Linked DNA regions of Homo sapiens: region 1 is linked to region 2. Evidence: promoter capture Hi-C in 16 types of primary human blood cells and fetal thymus (Javierre and others, 2016). All regions are on one chromosome and are shown on one strand. The core of a region is centred on a gene start or on the middle of the fragment in contact, and the rest is flanking DNA. Distances in the headings are between cores, read along the strand shown.

Region 1 (6,298 bases), core at 1,425-3,924, 210 kb after region 2:
GGGGGAGACAAACATTTAGTCTGTAGCGATTGGGAACAGAATGGATTGTGTTTGGTTCAGAACTTTACCTAGACTGCTCACATTTCAGACTATCACAGCCATGCAGTCACAGTGCATGTGCCGCCAGTGCGGCGTTACCAATTCAGCCTGCAGATTCTCAATGATTCCACCCAGAGCAGAGCCCACCCAACTACTTTGTGATGGTTTCTACACATTGTCCTGGAACATTTACATATTAATTTATTCTAAATTATTTTCACTTTATTTTCTTTTAAATTACAACTAGGACATTATTTATGTTTAAAACTATGCATGGCCGGGCGCGGTGGCTCACTCCTGTAATCCCAGCACTTTGGGAGGCCAAGGCGGAAGGATCACGAGGTCAAGAGATCGAGACCATCCTGGCCAACATGGTGAAACCCTGTCTCTACTAAAAATACAAAAATTAGCTGGGCATGGTGGCATGCGCCTGTAATCTTACCTATTCGGGAGGCTGAGGCAGGATAATCACTTGAACCCAGGAGGCGGAGGTTGCAGTGAGCCGAGATTGTGCCGCTGCACTCCAGCCTGGATGACAGAGTGAGACTCGGTCTCAAAAAAAAAAAATTATGTGCGTCAGCAGGTTATGTTATTCATGTATTTTATTTTAGAAAAGAAGCATTATAACTACTATTAAAGGGAGCCTTGGGCCTGTAGGGTTTCAAGCCACAGTCCAATGGCATGATAATCACAGCAACAGCAAACAATGATGGGTGCCAGCCACTCCAAAGGCTTGTAAATGACTCACATACACAAATCATTACATCTGTACAGTTCCCCTACCTTGTAACAGTGCTACAAGGGTATGCACTGTTAGCCCCATTTTGCAGAGGAGAAAACCAAGGTTCAGACAGAATAAGGCCCCTTGGTGGCGCTGGAAATAGAATCCAAGCAGCCCATACCCCTAACCACTGAACTAACCGATCCTGGATTCCCTGGGCTTGAAACACAGTGTTGGGTGAGTTGAGCATCCCCAGGACTGACGAGCCCAGGAAAGGTATGGGAGGCAAATGATGAAGCAGAAAGGTCAACAGCCCAGGCTCTAGCCTGGGTGCTAGTCTTGGCTGTGTCTTTACTCCTGTATGACCCTAAAGAGCCACTTCCCTTCACTGAGGCTCAGTTGTCTCATCTGTTTTCTTTTGGGTTTTTTTGTTGTGGTGGTGGTGGTGGTTTTGTTTTTGTTTTTGTTTTTTGAGACAAAGTCTCAATCTGTCTCCCAGGCTGGAGTATAGTGGTGGATCTCAGCTCACTGTAACCTCCACCTCCTGGGCTCAAGTGATCCTCCTACCTCAGTCTCCCAAGTAGCTGGGACTACAGGCGCATGCCACCACACACAGCTAATCTTTGTATTTTCTGTAGATTCAGAGTTTTGCCATGTTGCCCAGGCTGGTCTCAAATGTGTGGGCTCAAGCGATCTGCCTGCCTCAGCCTCCCACAGTGCTGGGATTACAGGCATGAGCTACTGTACCTGGCCTAGTTGTCTCATCTGTAAGAAGGGGGTGATGTCGCCTAAGTGGGTACTGTCCCTCTTCATGTTACAAGTGTGAGAACTATGACTCAGAGAGAAGAGACCTGCAGGGTTACGTGAGGATGGTGGGATGATCCTCTAAGGACATGCTCCACCTGCCCAGCAAGGTACCCATGGCTCCTTCAAAGCCCAATCTGAGACTCACGCATCACCAGACAAAAGTCAGAGGTCACCTGTCCTGGCCACTCGTCCCCCAATGCAACCACCCACAAGTGACCCCCACAGTGCAGAAGTATCTAAAAGCTTCCATTGGGCTGGGAGAGCTGGAGCGCTATCCTTGGAAGCACTGGGCCTCAGTTTCCCTGTGGTGAACTCCAGCTCCAAAATATGTCCCAAGTCAATCCACCTCTCTTTATCTGCACTGCTTCCATCTTAGCCCATGCCACATCACCTCTCTCCTGGCCCACCCACTGCCTCCCCTGCCCCCACACCTCCACTCCTCTCCTGCTTCCTCTCCTCCCACACCTCCACTCCTACCCCTGCCTCCTGTCCTCCCTGCTCCTGGCCCAGCAGCCAAAGAGGTCTTTTATAAATAAAAAAAATTTTTTTTGTTGTTGTTGAGACAGGATCTCACTTTGTCATTGAGGCTAGAGCACAGTGGGGTGATCTCGGCTCACTGCAGCCTCAACTCCTTGGGTTCATGCAATCCTCCTGCCTCAGCCCCCAAGTAGCTGGGAATACAGGTGCATGATGCCACGCCCTGCTAATTTTTGTATTTTATATATATATATATATATTTTTTTTTTTTTGAGACGGAGTCTCGCTCTGTCACCCAGGCTGGAGTGCAGTGGCATGATCTCAGCTCACTTCAAGTTCCATCTCCCAGTTCACACCATTCTCCTGCCTCAGCCTCCCGAGTAGCTGGGACTACAGGCGCCTGCCACCACGCCCGGCTAATTTTTCTGTATTTTTAGTAGAGATGGGGTTTCACCATCTAGCCAGGGGTTTCACTACTAGCCAGGATGGTCTCCATCTCCTGACCTCATAATCTGCCCTCCTCAGCCTCCCAAAGTGCTGGGATTACAGGCATGAGCCACCACGCCCAGCCTAATTTTTGTATATTTTTTTACAGATGGGGTTTCCCCATGTTGAACTCCTGAGCTCAAGCAATCCGCCCATCTCAGCCTTCCAAAGTGCTGGGACTACAGGCGTGAGCCACCGCACCTGGCTGATAAATGTAAAACCTTACGAAATCATTCCCCTGCTTAAACCCTATTGTTCTTAAATCAGATTCCTCTACAGGGTGTAGTGGATCCTGCCAACCTCTCCCATCTCATTTCCCACTATGTTCCCTCCCACCCTCCACCCTCTCCATATACGTCTGGACCACATTGGCCTCCTTGATATGCCATTAACAGGCATGTTCCTATCTTAGGACCTTTGCCCATGCTGTTTCTCCTCTTCAGTCAGCCCCATGGGCCACCCCTCCTGACCTTCCTTGGGTAAACTCTTCTTCCCGCCCTCCACTAGGTCGGCTTTACTCTCATGCACTCTCATACCCCGCCCACTTGTCTCTCCTGGCGATAATCCCAGTTTGCAATGCTAGATTTGTCTGCTTATCTTCTCCCCACTTGACTGAGCTCCACCAGGCCAGGAATACTGACTTGTTTCCCGCTGTGTACTGAGAACCTGAGAAAGTGTCTGCCCCAGAGTATGTGCTGAGAATGACCTGCTGAAAGCCAGACTGCAGGCATGAACCAATGGCCACCCAAAGGAGACTGATGGTACATCTCCTTCATCGTGCACACTAAGACATCAAAGACAGCTTGAAGGCAAGGAAGAAGCTAGGTTTTTATGTTGTTGTTGTTTTATTTTATTTTATTTAGTATTCTTCGGAGGCATAGAATGAAAGGCAGAGAGAACCCCAGGTACAATTTAATTCACTTGTTAGCAGAGGCTACATGTGCCAAATGCTATGCTACACCCTGGGGACAGCCTGTGTATACTGGGTTGGTGAGAGAATAAGCTTTGAGCCACACTGCCTGGATGCAGAGACCAACTCATTATTCACTAGCTGTGCAAGCTTGGGTAAGTCACTAAACCTCTCTGAACCTTGGTGTTTCCTTGTCCTCACTTCCTTCTTTGTGGATTACAGCCATGATATAACTTTATCCCCACTGTGCTGCATACTCCCAAGATCCCCCTGACCCTCTCTGACTAAACACCTGTTAGTTGGTGCCAACTCCACATCCCTCTGTGTTTGTCCCCCTGCAGTGGAATGTGGCTGGAGAAAAACACACCACCATGTAGACTGGCCTCACTTTACTTGAATGATGATAGCTTCAGTGGTGTCTTTTGTTCTGCCTGACAATCACAGTAGATCCATTCATTTTCCCTACACACTTCCTTCCTATCTTTTCAAACCTCCATCACCTTCTCCCCCATTCTCACTCTTAGCCAAGGACCTTGCTTCCTATTTCACAGGGAAAATGGTAGCAATCAGAAAGCATTTCCACACATTTCCACTGCACAGCTACCTACCTACCAATCTGGTACCCAAATACTCTGCCCTCCCTTCTGTGACCATGGATGAGCCATCTGTGCTCCAAGGTCAAAGCCCCCATTTGTATACTAGATCCCATCCTTCTCTCCAGAGACACCATTCTAGCCACTCTCTTCTCTCTCTCTGTCTGCATTATTACTTTTTTTTCCAATCTACTGAATCTCTCTCATCAGCATAAAAACATGCTACAATTTCTGCCTTTGAACAACTTATCTTGACCCCATTTTGCTCTCCACCTGCCACCTGTCCTCAGTTCTATAGCAAAACTCCTCAAAAAGTTACCTGGACTCACTGCCTCCATGTCTCTACTTCCTTTCCTTCTATTCTCTCTTGTTAGAATTTATTTTGACATAATGTCACTTACAGAAAAGTTACAAAGTAGTACAAAGAACACTCAAATCTCACCAGCCACAATGGCTAACACCTAAAATCTCAGCATTTTGGAAGGCTGAGATGGGAGGATTGCTTGAGCCTAGAATTTGAGACCAGCCTGGGCAACACAGGGAGACCCCATCTCTAAAAAATATTTAAAAATGAGTCAGGTGTGGTGGTGCGCAACTGTGGTCCCAGCTACTCAGGAGGTTGAGGTGGGAGCATTGCTTGAGCCTGGGAGGTTGAGGCTGCAGTGAGCTATGATCACACCACTGCACTCCAGCCTGGGTAACAGAGTGAGACCCTGTCTCAAAAACAAAAACAGAATAGCCAAATACCCATTACCCAGATTTTACCATCTTTGCTTTATCATTTATTTTTCTTTCCTCCAACCCTGAACTCTTTTATGGTAAGTTACAGGCCTAAAAACCAGTACACATTTCCTAAAAGGAAGGACATTCTCTTATAATAACCAAAATCGGGACGTTTTACACTGATGCAAAACCATTATCTAATCTACAGATCTTATTCAAATTTCACCACTCATCTAGTTAATATATTTTGTAGTAAGTGAAAATGATTTTTTCTTAATCTAGGATCTCACATTGCATTCAGTAGTTGTAATTACTTTATTCTCCTTCATCTAAAACTATTCCTCAGTCTTCCTTTGTCTTTTACCACTTCAACATTTTTAAAGAGTAAGGTTCTCTTGCAAAGATATCCTCACTTTGGACATTTTTTTTTTTTTAGACGGAGTCTTGCTCTGTTGCCCAGGCTAGAGTGCAGTGGTGCAATCTCGGCTCACTGCAACCTCTGCCTCCTGGGTTCAAGCGATTTTCTTGCCTCAGCCTCCTGAGTAGTTGGGACTACAGGCGCACGCCACCATGCCCAGCTAATTTTTGTATTTTTAGTAGAAACAGGGTTTCACCATGTTGGTCAGGCTTGTCTCGAACTCCTGACCTCGTGATCTGCCCACCTCAGCCTCCCAAAGTGCTGGGATTACAGGTGTGAGTCACTGTGCCTGGCCACTTTGGGCTTTTCTAATGCTTCCTCATGAGTCAATTATGCCTCTTTGGCAGAAATATCACTGACGTGACGCGACGTCCCACTCAGTGCATCATCCCGGAAGCCACATGATGTCAATTTGCCCTGCTACTGGTGATGTTCACTTTATCACTTGGTCAAGTGGTGTTGGCTGTGTTTCTCCATGTAAAGTTACTATTTTACCCTTTGTAATTAATAAGTATCTTGGGGGGAGATATTCTCAGACTGTGCAAATGCCCTATTTCTCATCAAACTTTAATCCACTACTGCAGTGTCCATTAATGATTGTCTCCTATGGTGGTTGCCAACTCCTATTCTTCTACATTTAGTCATTTGCTTCCTACTTTTTTTTTTTTTTTTTTTTGAGACAGAGTTTCACTCTCATTGCCCGGGCTGGAGTGCAATGGCACTATCTCAGCTCACTGCAACCTCCACCTCCCAGGTTCAAGCAATTGTCCTAGCTCAGTCTCCTGAGGAGCTGGGATTACAGGCATGCACCACCACACCTGGCTAACTTTTTGTATTTTTAGTAGAGACTGGGTTTCACCATGTTGGCCCGGCTGGTCTCAAACTCCTGATCTCAGGTGATCCGCCTGCCTCGGCCTCCCAAAGTGCTGGGATTACAGGCATGAGCCACTGCGCCTGGCCCAGCTTTCTACTCTTAAAAAGAGCTCTCCAGGCCAGGTGTGGTGGCTCACACCTCTAATCCCAGCACTTTGGGAGGCTGAGGCAGGCAGATCACCTGATGTCAGGAGTTTGAGACTAGCCTGGCCAACATGGCAAAACCCCATCTCTACTAAAAATACAAAAAT
Region 2 (6,951 bases), core at 3,412-5,911:
ATGTTTCTCCTCACAACAGCCAGCACGATCCTGTTAAAAACTAGATTAGAGCTGGTCTCTTCTGCCCACTCACGGAGCTTTTTGCTCTAGAGAAAACACCCAAGCTGTCACCACAGGGCCACAGGGGACCTGCCCTGTCTCCTCCCCTCCAACCTGGCTCCCGCTGCTGCGGCCACACTGGCCTCCTAGCTGTCCTTTGAACAGCAAAATCCACTTCTGGGACAGAGCAGGTGTGGCCGCACCCCAGGGCCTTTTCACTTGCTGTTTTCTCCCCTGGACCGTGCTTTCTGCAGACAGCTCACTCCCACACTCCCTTCATGTCCTCTCCTTGACAGCGGCACATTCCCCATTCAGGAGCTTTGCTTTCCTCCGGAGTCCTTGCCACCATCTGACCTGCTCTATGTTTCTGTTTTTTATTCTGCTTCGTGAATGCTTCCTCCAACTTCCTGAGAGCAGGGATTGTGGTTGAGCACACAGTTGGTGCCCAAGAAATACTGGTTAAAATGAATAAATAAGAACTGCAAGGTCACTGTAAAATAAACAAACAAACAACAACAACAAAAAAAAAAAAAACAGAAAATACAGATATGCATCTTTTAAAAGTATCCCAACACATTCCGAACACCAGCCATTCTGAGTCTCTCCTTTTCTCTGGGGCCTTTTTGCACATGTAGTTCCCTCTGCCTAAGACATCCCCTTCATTGACATTAATGACTGTTCCTCACTGTGTCCCCGAGGTCCAAAAGCACACCTCACTTTTGAGGAAGGAGATAATTTGGGAGTGGGCCAGGGCCATAGGGCAGATGGGTCACGTGGGGACACACCCCCACTGTGCCTGGTTTCCAGACAAGGAAACAGACCCCCGGAGCCAAATCCCATCCCTCAAGTGACACAGCCGTGGTAGCACCTGGGTCAAAACCAGAGAATTCGTCTTTGTGGGGAGCAGGGATTTAGGCGTTCAGAGCTTAGGAGTTGTCGAACATACAAGAAAGTGAGGCTACTTCTGCCCTGTCTGCCCTCATCTCCCCATCCAGCCCTCTGTGGGAAAGCTACTGATGTTTGTAAATGTTTAACTGGACACTCTCATTAGTTTAATAGCTTTTCATATGGCAAAGGTCACCATCATCTGCAAATTCGCCTACTCCCCTTAACTACTGACTTAGCCCTCTTTACTAGGTATATCATTTATTGCTTTTGCTATATCCTTGTTTATTTTGCACCTTCGTCTGCTGTCTTGACCTGGAAGGGTGAGTCAGGCCTGTACTGCTGGACTGTGCTTCTGTCCATTTCTCCTGGAATGTCTGAGGCTATTTCAGGAAATATTCAGAATACAGATAGTCACTACAATTTTGACTCCTTTATGAATTAGAGTTTTGATATATGAAATGACTCTTGGTCTCAATTTATACTTTTGGTACCAAATGCTATATGGAGGGTTCTGTGTTCCTCTGTTCCTCCCTCTTTCTCTCTTCTCCTTTTTTTTTTTTTTTTCATATCTCTGCAAGACATTTGCCCCCAAGGGTCTAAACAACTACTTTTGTTAAATTTTGATTTTTGATCAAATCCTGGTTGGGACAGGACCTAAGTTTCAGAGTCAGAAAGTAGGTGGTAAAGGAGATAAATGTATTCATTAGTTTTTGGTTACTATAATCTTTCAATATATATCCTGGAATGTGTATCTCTGTGCACTTAGTATGGAGTAGTTTTTGTCTGTTTGTTTCTTTTAGTTTTTTGAGACAAGAGTCTTGCTTTGTCGCCGAGGCTAGAGTGCACTGGCGTGCTCTTGGCTCACTACAACCTCCACATCCCGAGTTCAAGCAATTCTCCTGCTTCAGCCTCCCGAGTAGCTAGAATTACAGGTGCCCACCACCATACCTGGCTAATTTTTTGTGTTTTTGGTAAAGACAGGGTTTTACCATGTTGACCAGTTGGAGGCTGGTCTTGAACTCCTGACCTCAAGTGATCTGCCAACATCAGCCTCCCAAAGTGCTGGAATTATACGAGTGAGCCACTGCACCCAGCCTCTGAGTACTTTTGTTGTACATAAAATAAGAGTGACTTAAACAACATAGAAGTTTCTTTTACAATTTAACAACAACATTAAACAAACAAACAAAACAGTTCAACACAGGCAAAACAGGGCTGGTATGGGTGCTCTCTGCCACAAAATCCCAAAGGAGCCTAGTATGCATCTAACCCCCACCACATGCCTCATAGCACAAAATCGTTGCTGGAGTTCTGGCCATCACATCTGATTCCAGACAGCCAAATGGAGGAAGAGCAGAAGGGCACACTCCCTTATTGTTAACTCTTTCCCTGTTTGCCAGAAGGAATACCCACTTGTGACTGCAGTGTTTACCCCAAGATAACTTTGCCACAAAATACCTCGCTTTTATTATTATTTTTGCCTTGCTCTAGTATATTGACTTTGGAAACAAAAGACATCACTCTATTTGTAGCATTCTGGTTTTAGTCGTGGTATTTCCATTTACAAAACAAAGTAATTCTCGATCGCTGAAAATAGCAAATCCTAGCATTCCTATGTGTGATGTTAACATTGTTCTTGAACAGTTGTTGACCAAAGATTCGTTTGATGAATCCAGTTTTTCTGAAATAGATGAGTCTGATGTTAGTTCTGGTTAGAAATAACTTCAAAAACAGTTTTTACATGTTATTTTCACATTGAAAATCAGTCAGATTTAGGGCTGGGCTTGGTGGCTCACGCCTGCAATCCCAGCACTCTGGGAGGCTGAGGCGTGGGGATCACTTGAACCCAGGAGTTCGAGACCAGCCTGGCAACATGGAGAAACCCCGTCTCTACTAAGAAATATAAAAAATTAGCCGGACATTGTGGTGCACGCCTGTAATCCCAGCTACTAAGGAGACTGAGGCACGAGAACTGCTTGAACTCGGGAGGCGGAGGTTGCTGTGAGCCGAGATCAAGCCACTGTAGTCCAGCCTGGGCTACACAGTAAGACTCTGTCTCAAAAGAAAAAAAAAAAAAACAGCAGTCAGAATCAGATTTGCTTCAGCCTCAAATAGCACGTTTACATAAAATTAAATGAGTGCTGGCAACGAGCTGCACTTTTTTTTCTAAACAGGAAACGGGCTAAGGAGACTACTCAAAGTCGCATTTGAATTCATTGGCCTGTGCTTGATGACATGGCCATGTGCAGCTACAAAGAAGGCTGGGAAATGTAGTCCTTTAGTTGAGTGGCCATTTGTCTAACAAAAACTGCGCCTTTTTTTTATTTTTTCTTTTTTAAGATGGAGTCTCGCTCTGTTGCCCAGGCTGGAGTGCAGTGGCATGATCTCGGCTCACTGCAACCTCCACCTCCCAGGTTGGAGCCGTTCTCCGGCCTCAGCCTCCTGAGTAGCTGGGATTACAGGTGTGCGCCACCATGCTGGGCTAATTTTTGTATTTTTAGTAGAGACGGGGTTTTGCCATGTTGGCCAGGCCAGTCTCGGACTCATGACCTCAAGGGATCCGCCCGCCTCATCCTCCCAAAGTGCTAGGATTACAGACGTGAGCCACCGCGCCTGGCCAATAACTACATGTTTTTGAATGCAACTGATACGTTTGCTGAAATAGTAATCTTATAATGATGGTTCATTGAGCCCTCACTATGTGGCAGGCACAGTTTTAGCACTTTAGTGCATGTTCCTAGCAACAGTTCTGATGTTGGTACTGACAGCCTATAGCTGTTTTGCAAGAGAAGACTCTGAAGCACAGGAGGTTAGGTCACTTGCTCAGCTTGTAAGGGTTGAAGCTGGGATTTGAACCCAGGCAACTGGTTCCAGATGTTACCGCAGGGGAGAGCTCCAAGATGGCCCGAGTCTAGAACAGAGAAAGAGGCCAAAGTGGGGGGCCACTTCTTCCAAAATATTCCTGAGAAGCCAGAAATGCTGAAGGTTGCTTGCCATCCCCTCCACTGCTGATTACAGTAACAAATTGTTAAACACACTGGGCAAACCAAAGTAATATATCTGCTGTCTGGCAGTGGCCAGTGAGTTAACAATTTACAAATCCTAAGCTAAGTCATTGAGAAAGGCCCTTCCACCTTCAAAATGTCAGATTCCCAAGCAGCCCCTGCCCTCAAAAAGCTTCAGTCTCAAGGTATGTGCCTGCATGCACCCACACAAGAACAACCTGAAATGAAGGGGTCATGGGCCCTGGTGAGGACGCCTGAGAAGGTGAGGCAGCCAGAGGTCTCCTGGAGGACGGAGTCTTGTAGAAAGCTTGGATGTGGACAGCAGAGGGGGCTGGTGCTCCAGGCTGGGAGGACAGCACAGGCAAAGGTGTGCCACTGCTGTCTGGGAGCTTCCCCTCCCTCCTTGGGTCCTCTTGGCACGCCTGGAGTGGGCCTCACCTGTGCTATTAGTCAAGTCAGCTTCCTAAGGGAGGGAATGGAGTCTGAGGCCCCCAGAAGGGAGGGGGCAGAGCGGGACTGCTAGGGGATCTGACTGCGTTACACCCCAGGAGTGGCTCCTCCCAGAGAGGAAAAGGAGGTGACCAGAAAGGCCACTGAGCATTGGGTTCGCTCAGTGAAGGTATGAGGAAGGAAGTCCCAGCCCTGTGAGGGAATTCCGTGTGTGGGAACCGTGGGGAGGAGCTGCCAGGATTCAGGAGTTTCCTGGGTGAGGCGTGGCCACAACGGACACTCCTGCTTTGTACTAGAAGGAAGAAGTATGGAGTTAAAGACTGCAGCGTGAACTGAGGAGTCCCGGACAGGCCGCTTGCTGCAGAGGATCCAGTCCAGATCCCAGGAGAGCCCCTCTGCCCCTTCGGACCTCGTCTCCCATCTACAAAACGTGAAGATTGGCCCAGTTAGCGTGTCTCTACAAAAAGGTGCATATACCACTGGTGAGTTCACTTGATACCTAGTAGGGGAATCTTTTCCTTTTTTAAATTTTCATAGTCATGTATTAATTCTCATGTGAATTAGACAAAAATAACGATGTCACCAAACCTGCCATTTCACGATAATGATCAGTAACCCTTAGAGGTGCTTACCCTATGCTGGGACTGTTGGAAACAGCATAAACTCACCAGCATCCTTATATCTCACAACAAACCACGGAGTTCATACTATCACTATCCCCTACTTACAGATGAGGAGATGAGGCAGAGAGAGGCAAAGCCACTTGCCCAGGGTCACCCAGATTGTAAGCAGCAGAGCCAGGGTCAAACTCAAACAGCTGGCTCCAGAGCCTCACTCCTGGCATCTCCCATATTACTGCTCAGACTAAGGATAGATAGAAGAAAGTTGTTAGTAACAGCACAGGTGGGCTGCCACTGGTAGCTGACAAAGGGGTAAACAGATGGCAGAATGGCTCTGGAGGGCTAGAGGAAGTGGTCTCCAAAGGCCACGTAGAGAGTGATATAATTTCAGGAGGAAAAAAAGCCAGATTGAAATCTTATTTCAGGTAACCATATATTTGCATCAGGTAATATGTTTACATGGTTCACAAATCAAAACTCTTATTAAAAGATATACAGAGGCAGGGCCAGGAGCGGTGGCTCATGCCTGTAATCCCAGCACTTTGGGAGGCTGAGGAGGGTGGATCACAAGATCAGGAGATTGAGACCATCCTGGCTAACACGGAGAAACCCCATCTCTAATAAAAATACAAAAAATTAGCTGGGCGTAGTGGTGGGCGCCTGTAGTCCCAGCTACTTGGGAGGCTGAGGCAGGAGAATCACTTGAACCCGGGAGGTAGAGGTTGCAGTGAGCTGAGATTGTGCCACTTCACTCCAGCCTGGTGACAGAGTAAGACTCTGTCACAAGAAAAAAAAAAAAGATATACAGAGGCATCACCAACATCCCTGCAGTCCCTGTGTGTCCTTCAAGGGTTGCTTTGTGCAAGTACAAGCAAAGAAAACATGTTTTTCCTCCTCTTCTATGACCAAAAGGCAGTACACTTTTTCCTGGTTCCATTTACCTGCCTTGATTTTGTTTCAAGATTATTATTATAGCCTGGAGACCTTTCCTTATCAGTCACCAAGATCTGCTTTCCTTATTTCTTATTCCTTTAAACAGGTATGTGGTATTCCAGCAGGTCCCTTTAATTAGCCCCCTCTCTGTTGGTAGCCACCCAGGAGAAAATTTCCCATAACTTGCTATTACCAACAAGATCGCAATCTATAATAACCTTGAACATGAGTCATTTTGTCAGGCTTTGGGACAATCTCATGGTGAGAAATGGCACCTGGAGTAGTTTTCCTATTGTGAATGAAGGTGATAATATTTTCATGTGTTTAAAGCTTATTTGTACCTTTTTCTCTGAATTGTTCATATCCTTGGCCCTCTTCTATATGGGGTCTCTTTGTTCTTGATTTTTAAAAACTCTTTATATATTAGGAATGTCACGCGCGTCCATGTGAAGAGACCATCAAACAGGCTTTGTGTGAGCAACAAGGCTGTTTATTTCACCTGGGTGCAGGCGGGCTGAGTCCGAAAAGAGAGTCAGCGAAGGGAGATAGGGGTGGGGCAGTTTTATAGGATTTGGGTAGGTAGTGGAAAATTACAGTCAAAGGGGGTTGTTCCCTGGCGGGCAGGGGTGGGGGTCACAAGGTGCTCAGTAGGGGAGCTTCTGAGCCAGGAGAAGGAATTTCACAAGGTAATATCATCAGTTAAGGCAGGAACCGGCCATTTTCACTTCTTTTGTGATTCTTCAGTTACTTCAGGCCATCTGGATGTACACGCGCAGGCTTGGGCTCAGAGGCCTGACAAGGAAGATGAGCCCTTTGTCTGTGATTTATGTGGCAAATGTTTTCCCCGTGTTTTCATTTAACTTTTGACCTTGCTGTTGGTATCTTTTGCAGAAGCTGCTTTGTTTGCTTTTGTGTGTCGGATTGAACTTTTCTTTCATGAATCACGGTTAGGAAAGGCTTCTCTTGTTTTCTGCTAATAAAAAGACAGCTTGGGCCAGGCGTGGTGGCTCACACTG

The links. The method cuts DNA at HindIII sites, captures the fragments that hold promoters and counts their contacts. A CHiCAGO score of 5 or more calls a contact.
Region 1: a contact is called between a fragment that was not itself captured here and the fragment with the promoter of SLC52A3 in region 2, in 2 of 17 cell types (M2 macrophages and megakaryocytes). The highest score is 7.2, in M2 macrophages.

The regions. Positions count from the first base shown.
Region 1 is chr20:552,888-559,185 of GRCh38, reverse strand. No RefSeq gene overlaps it. Among named protein-coding and RNA genes, the nearest start is that of CSNK2A1, 12 kb to the right of the region's middle. The HindIII fragment of the contact is 1,723 bases long and covers 1,813-3,535 here.
Region 2 is chr20:766,210-773,160 of GRCh38, reverse strand. It overlaps SLC52A3 (solute carrier family 52 member 3), which reads left to right and starts at 4,661. Exons shown (of 5, transcript NM_033409.4): 1 at 4,661-4,864. RefSeq lists an enhancer at 3,987-4,486. The HindIII fragment of the contact is 2,026 bases long and covers 4,242-6,267 here.